Regions from separate parts of the Homo sapiens genome. Here region 1 is linked to region 2. The links are contacts of gene promoters, found by promoter capture Hi-C in human tissues and cell types (Jung and others, 2019). All regions are on one chromosome and are shown on one strand. The core of a region is centred on a gene start or on the middle of the fragment in contact, and the rest is flanking DNA. Distances in the headings are between cores, read along the strand shown. Region 1 holds the start of C16orf90 (chromosome 16 open reading frame 90). Region 2 overlaps CREBBP (CREB binding lysine acetyltransferase).

What was found. The method cuts DNA at HindIII sites, captures the fragments that hold promoters and counts their contacts. A contact is called where the count stands out against the background at its distance.
Region 1: a contact is called between the fragment with the promoter of C16orf90 here and a fragment that was not itself captured in region 2, in 1 of the 25 tissues and cell types used here (dorsolateral prefrontal cortex).

The regions. Positions count from the first base shown.
Region 1 is chr16:3,494,166-3,497,385 of GRCh38, reverse strand. It overlaps C16orf90 (chromosome 16 open reading frame 90), which reads left to right and starts at 1,897. Exons shown (of 3, transcript NM_001080524.2): 1 at 1,897-2,010; 2 at 2,509-2,862. The coding sequence starts at 1,965. It also overlaps a transcript of CLUAP1 not described here and the pseudogene RPL18P12. The HindIII fragment of the contact is 9,668 bases long and covers 1,140-3,220 here.
Region 2 is chr16:3,873,167-3,876,280 of GRCh38, reverse strand. All of the region lies in intron 1 of CREBBP (CREB binding lysine acetyltransferase), which reads left to right. Among named protein-coding and RNA genes, the nearest start is that of CREBBP, 6.0 kb to the left of the region's middle. The HindIII fragment of the contact is 5,503 bases long and covers 1-3,114 here.

The DNA of each region.
Region 1 (3,220 bases), core at 648-3,147, 380 kb after region 2:
ATTCAGAGTTGTCTTATACCTCCTTGGTTAAATGTATTCCTATTTTATTCTTTTTATTCTTTGCTAGTATCTAGAAATACAATTAATTTTTGTGTGGTGATTTTATGACTTGAGATTTTTCTGAACTTCATTAGCTCTGAAAAAGCTCTACTAGGTTCAGGATTTTTTTTTTTCAAGTATGAATTATTTAATATTTCCTACATACAAGATCAGGTTGCTGGGCGCGGTGGGTCATGCCTGTAATCCCAGCACTTTGGGAGGCCGAGGTGGGCGGATCACCTGACGTCAGGAGTTTGAGACCAGCCTGGCCAACATGGCGAAAGCCTGTCTCTACTAAAAATACAAAGATCCGTTGGGCGTGGTGGTGGGTGCCTGTAATCCCACCTGCTGGGGAGGCCGAGGCAGGAGAAGCTCTTGAACTCGGGAGGCGGAGGTTGCAGTGAACCGAGATCGCGCCACTGCACTCCAGCCTGGGCGCCAAAGTGAGACTCCATCTTAAAAAAAAAAAAAAAGAAAAGAAAAAAAGAAAAATCAGGTCGTCTGTGACAAGAGAAAATTGAATGTTTTAACTTTTTGTTTTTTTGTCAGCATCCAAAATCTTTTTAATAAGAGGGTTCGTTTTTGTAGCCTCGGCTGGCCCGTAGGCCTCTGGCGCGCTCGAACTTCTGGTCCCTGGAGCGGAAATAGCGTTTGGTGTGGCTGTGTGGGGTTCCCAGGGCCTTGCCGAAATGCCGGTACACCTGTCGGCCCTTGCGAAGACCGGAGAGTAGGACGGGGCCGCCGTCCTTGAGGGAGTCCAGGGCCAGCTGATCGAAAGTCAGGATCTTGGCCCCCACCCTGAGGATGCCGCTGTGGGCCGGCTGGTCACGGGCAGCGCACACACCTTAAGTTTGGGCACCTCCTGAACCCTCGCGTCATCCGTTAAGCGTCCCCACAACCACGGCCGTTTTGTTTTCCCAGCCAGGAAGCTTCATCTTCCGGATCATCCGGGAAACGGACAGAGGTGGCCGGTTGGTGCGACTCATAAACAACCTCTTCAGCACAACCTGGTTGAATGTGGAGTTAGTTCGTCTGGACGGTAACCTGTACAGCTTGACCAACAAACAGCCTCAGTTAGATATCCTGGCTCTTGGGCTCTTTGCGCCGAACCTTTAGGTCCTTCTTGTGGCGGACGTCAGCTCCCATGATGGCGCTTCCTGCTTGGCCAGGTCCGGAAAGATGAATGTTTAACTTTTTTTTTTTTTTGAGACGGAGTCTCGCTCTGCAGCCCAGGCTGGAGTGCAGTGGCGCGATCTGGGCTCACTGCAAGCTTCGCCTCCCGGGTTCACGCCATTCTCCTGCCTCAGCCTCCTGAGTAACTGGGACTACAGGCTCCCGCCACGACGCCCGGCTAATTTTTTTGTATTTTTAGTAGAGACGGGGTTTCACCGTGTTAGCCAGGATGGTCTCGATCTCCTGACCTCATGATCCGCCCACCCCGGCCTCCCACAGACCTCAACTGATCAGCCTGCCTCGGCCTCCCACAGTGCTGGGATTACAGGCATGAGCCACCGCCCCCAGCCCCTTTTCAGCATTTTCAAAGTACCGACCTAGGTCTTCCTAGGTCTGTACTCCTGAACCCTCATTTCCCACCCCAGATGAGGAAGCTGGCCCCAAGAGATCACCTGAGAGAAGGACTCTCCAGTTTGCCAGAGCTGTCTGTTTTATGTGGCCTGACCCCAGCCAGAGGGACCAGGGACTTCCCCCAGGGTTCTGGCCCCTTCCCATGCCTTTCTTTCACCCTGCCCTTGCCTTGGGCACTGTCCTCTCCCAAACTAGGGGTCCAGGAAGGCTGGGAGTCTTCCCCGTGATGTCATAAGAACCAGTTGCCAGGGGAGACCTGCCAATGTACCCCCTAGGCAGGGGAGAGCAGGGCCCTGCTGCACCCAAGTCCTGGTTGCTCCTCCCCACCACACTGGCCCTCCATGGAAGCCTTGGTCTGTGCATTTTCTGAGCTGCACATAAGAGAAGGTGCCGGGCTGTGGGGAGGAGTGGCAGGAAGAGAGATAGGCTTCTGTCCCCACCTGGGCCCAAAGCCGAGGGGTGGCCTCAGGGACATGTATGCTTGGGAGAGGGGAATGGCCACTGGGCCAGGCCATGAGCCCCTGGGCTGGCCACTTTCTCTCAAACCCACTGTGCAATTTCTCTGTGGGGACCAGAATACTCTTCCTAGGGTAGCGGGCAGAACAGGGTAGTAGAAAGGACTTGAGGTCCTGAAAGCACTCTTAGTACCAAGGCCCGAGGCTTCCCAGGCCTCCCTGTTGGTTGGGAGTGGGAAGAGGAGTCGTGTCTTGGGCATGGGCAGGGGAGGCAGTGGACTGAGACTATTTGACACACAGGTAAACTGAGGCCAGGTTGGCTGGGGGTGTAGCCCATCATGTGAGCTGGTCTCAGAGGTATGTGACTGCACCCTCCCCTCATGGCTGCTGTGGGGGGCTGGCCACCACCCTCCCGCTGTCTCCTCTGCAGATGCAGTGAGCCAGGCCCAAGGACGCCCCGGCCACCCTGACGCACCCCCCAACATCTACGAGGGGGGCCTGGGGTCCCCGCAGCCGCAGTGCCCCAGTGCCCAGGGAAGCAAGCCCAAGAACTTCCGGCTGCGCCACCTCCGGGGCCTGGGCCTCTACCTGGAGAGCCACCCGCCACCCACTGGCCAGTGTGAGAGCCACTGGCTGGGCCGGCTTATGGCTGGGGGCTGCCTGCCACAGCCTGAGGGCACAGCCTGGGCCCTGGACCTGCCACAGGGGACTCTGGGCCCACGTAACAGCCTCTGTTCAGCCCTTCTGGAAGCCCGATTGCCCAGGGACAGCCTGGGAAGCAGTGGTGAGCTCTGTCAAGGCAGGACTGGGCACGGGGGAAGACCCTAGGGGATGGTTGGGCTGGGGCCTCAGGCGGGCCCTTCTCCACTCCCAAGCCTCCACAGTGGCACCATGCCCCAGAAGGCCAAGATCTTGATGAATCTGTCCCCATCTCTGCATCACGCACAGCTAAGCGGGGTCTGGAGAATCCACCAGGGACAAAGCGGTGCGAGAAAAAGGGAGGATCTGGGAGGGAGGGCTGGGTGACTGCCCCAGCTCCACACTCGGTGAGGGGCCTTGGAATCTGTCTCCCTTGCTGGGCCTCAGTTTTCTCACTTGTAAAATGAGGGTTCAGGTTAGATGAGGGTCCTTCCAGCTTGAAC
Region 2 (3,114 bases), core at 286-2,785:
ATTGCTTGAGGCCAGCAGTTGGAGACCAGCCTGGACAACATAGTGAGACCCCATCTAAACAAAAAATTTTTTTAATTAGTTGGGTGTAATAGTACAATCCTGTAATCCCAGCTATTCAGGAGGCTGTGGCAGGAGGATCGCTTGAGCCCAGGAGGTCGAGGCTGCAGTGAGCTGTGATCATGCCACTGCACTCTGGCCTGGGTGACAGAGTGAGACCCTGTCTCTGGGGGAAAAAGGAAAAGAAAAACTACATTCTGAAGATTGAACATAGCTGTGTTTCATCCTGTGCTGTATAAGTGGCTCTAAGCAGTTGTGATTACATTTTATGACGTGAATCCTTTTAAATGCAATAGGGAAGCTTATTTAAAGAAAGCTGGTGGCGAATATGGTTGTCAACCAAATGGTCTGTTATGTATGTCTGGTACTTTATGTATCAGAGTGCTTTTCTCCACGTCACCTCAGTTTGATCCTTACAGCGTCCTGTGAGGAAGGGAAGATGCTGTTACTGCTATTTTCTAGGTGAGGAACTGGACTTGAGAGGTGATACAGGGTCAAAACCAGATCCAAACTAGATTGTTAAAGTCCGTAGCTCTATATATTTATTTTCTAAGTCTCTATCTGTAAACAATGCATTTACTTGAATCGACCCAGGAACCTGCCAAGCTTAGTGAGTTTCAGTAGCGGCCTTCCCGCACATGAATGAGATCACTAAGGGGGAGGTTTGTAACCACCTGTGGTGGGGGCAGCCAGGAGTGTATTCTTCCTCCTGGGTTAGGGCGTCCCCCTTTTCCCTCTGGTTCTGGTGTTATCCTCAGCGTGACGTGTGTGGGCTCGTGTTCCTGTTTACCTCAGGGAGAATGAGAAACGGTTATGTTACCCCATCAGTGAGTTCTGGCTAAGTAGGAATAAAAGTTGTCATAGAGACTTTTAGGACTAGGACATTTCATGACCGTGCTTCGTTTTTGAATAACTGAGAGGGGTGAGAGCGGTGGCCCCATTCAAAGGTCGTCAGGGATGAAGGTAGGCAAGGACAAGTCATGTGCAGGGCGCCTTAGAGGGCCTTCAGAAGATGGAAAGTCGCTCCTGGCTGAACATTCAGATTTGATTCTGTAAACAGAATTGAACATAACTTACAAAGAGACTGAGTCCTGCAGTTGGAAGTTGATGCTTAGATTAGTCGCCTGTGTTTTCACAGCTTCTAAGTAGTGTGTTGTAATTGTGTGGCAAAGTATGTGATTACCTGGGGGGTCCATAATTGCTGACTTGTGTTTTTACTTGATGTATTTGAAAACAGTTAGGAAAATGATTTTGCCAAAGTGTGTCTTACCTTAGTTAAGATGAAATGTACCTTATTGTGAGTTTCTGAAGATTGCAAAAGCTTGTCAGTTTAGTTTTTGGGGTCCCATTAGTGAGGGCACCCCTCTTTACCTTACTCAAACCAGCTCTTCACATGTATTCCAAGAAACTAGAGGGCATGCTAAGAGGTATTTCTCAACAAATGGTTTGTGCTCAGATGCTGTTGCTTGTAGCTGAGGAATTTGACTGCAGACTTTCCCAGAGCCTTGGTGTCCTGATTGGGCACTGTGAGAGAGGGGCTACAGTTGGACCACTCTCAATCCTGTTTGACGCTAGAACTCTTTTTAGCCTATTATGGGTCCGCAGACTTCCTCTGCAAAGGGCCAGAGAGCACGCATTTGGCTTTCTGAGCCATATGGTCTCTTGTTGCAACTACTCAAGGCTGCCATTTCAGCAAGAAAGTAGCCATAGGCGAGTGGGCCTGGCTGTGTTCCAGTAAAACTCTAGTTGTAAAGACTGGCATCTGAGGACTTCGCCCATGGGCTGCAATTTGGTGACTGATATAACGTGGGACTTCATTCTCTGAGCACCCGTTGGGGAGCACTGGCCTACCACGGCTGCACAGACAGCTTTAAGGAAAACAGCAGCAGGGCAAGTTTTCTGAGCTGCATGATGTGGAGCCCGGGAGAGCCCAGGTGAGCAGCAGGCTAGCTTGGGTCTCCTGTCTTGGAGCACTTCAGAGCTTAGCAGGGCCCTCTCTCTCTGTCTTTTTTGTTCCTCTGTAACAGTTATATGGATGACTTGATTTAAAATCAGACGAATTTATCAGAAAGCCTGGTGACCGGTTGCATTTTTCTTTGTTCTTTTGCTTTTTGTTGACCCCAGTGGCCCACATGGCATTTCTCGTCCGTCTTTGTCATCTCAGGCTCTAGGCTTGCTCCCCTTCCTGTGACACCAGAAGGTGAGCGTCAGTAAGAACTCCAGAGCCTTTCCACGGCCCTCTTCCCAGCACTTCCCTCCCCAGGGGCAGTGCCTGACACATAGTAGGCCCTCAGGAAATATTTGAGGGAATTAGTGAAAGAATTATATAGTATTTGTCCCTTAAAGTTCTTATCATTTTCTTGTTAAGGTTTTACTTTCAAGCAGATTGCCACCTATCTTCTAATTGGGTCTGTTATTTGCTTCCGAGTTCCGTACCCATGGGCTCCCACCCGGCCACCAAACCAGCTGGCCTTAGGAGTGCTGAGGCCAGAGCATGTTTGGGGCAAGTTACATCAGCTCTCTGAGCTCAGAGTTTCCTCATCTGTAACATGGAGATAATAACAATTCCCATCTCAGGGTGGTTATGAGGGTAGCCTGAGATGATGTGTGTCTGGCATATCCGCCCAATGGGAACTGACACTAGCGTTAACCAGGGACGTTGTCGTACCTTGTAAGTCCTAGGACTTACTGGGAGTGCTAGTCTGATTGGAGCAAGACCTGTTTCTCAGCAGTTCTGGAAAGGACAGAAGCCATGTGTGCTCGTATCCACAGAAACCAGTGTGCAGGCACGCGTGTGATAGTGTAGCACCTCAGCAGATACATAGCCGGGAATTCTGTCATCTATACCATTGACTCTGTCTCCATTTTTTATTGTATTTTTAAAAATAGGAACGTGATGGCCATGAAAGCTTAAAATTACGAAAACTTAAATGGTGTGTGTTCTGAATTATTTTTTCTTTTAAATCAAATCAGGATGTACACTGAAAATTATTGATAATTTTGAAGCATATTTCATGGACTGTTTAAGCAGCAGACAAGTATGTGATTCTGTTTGTT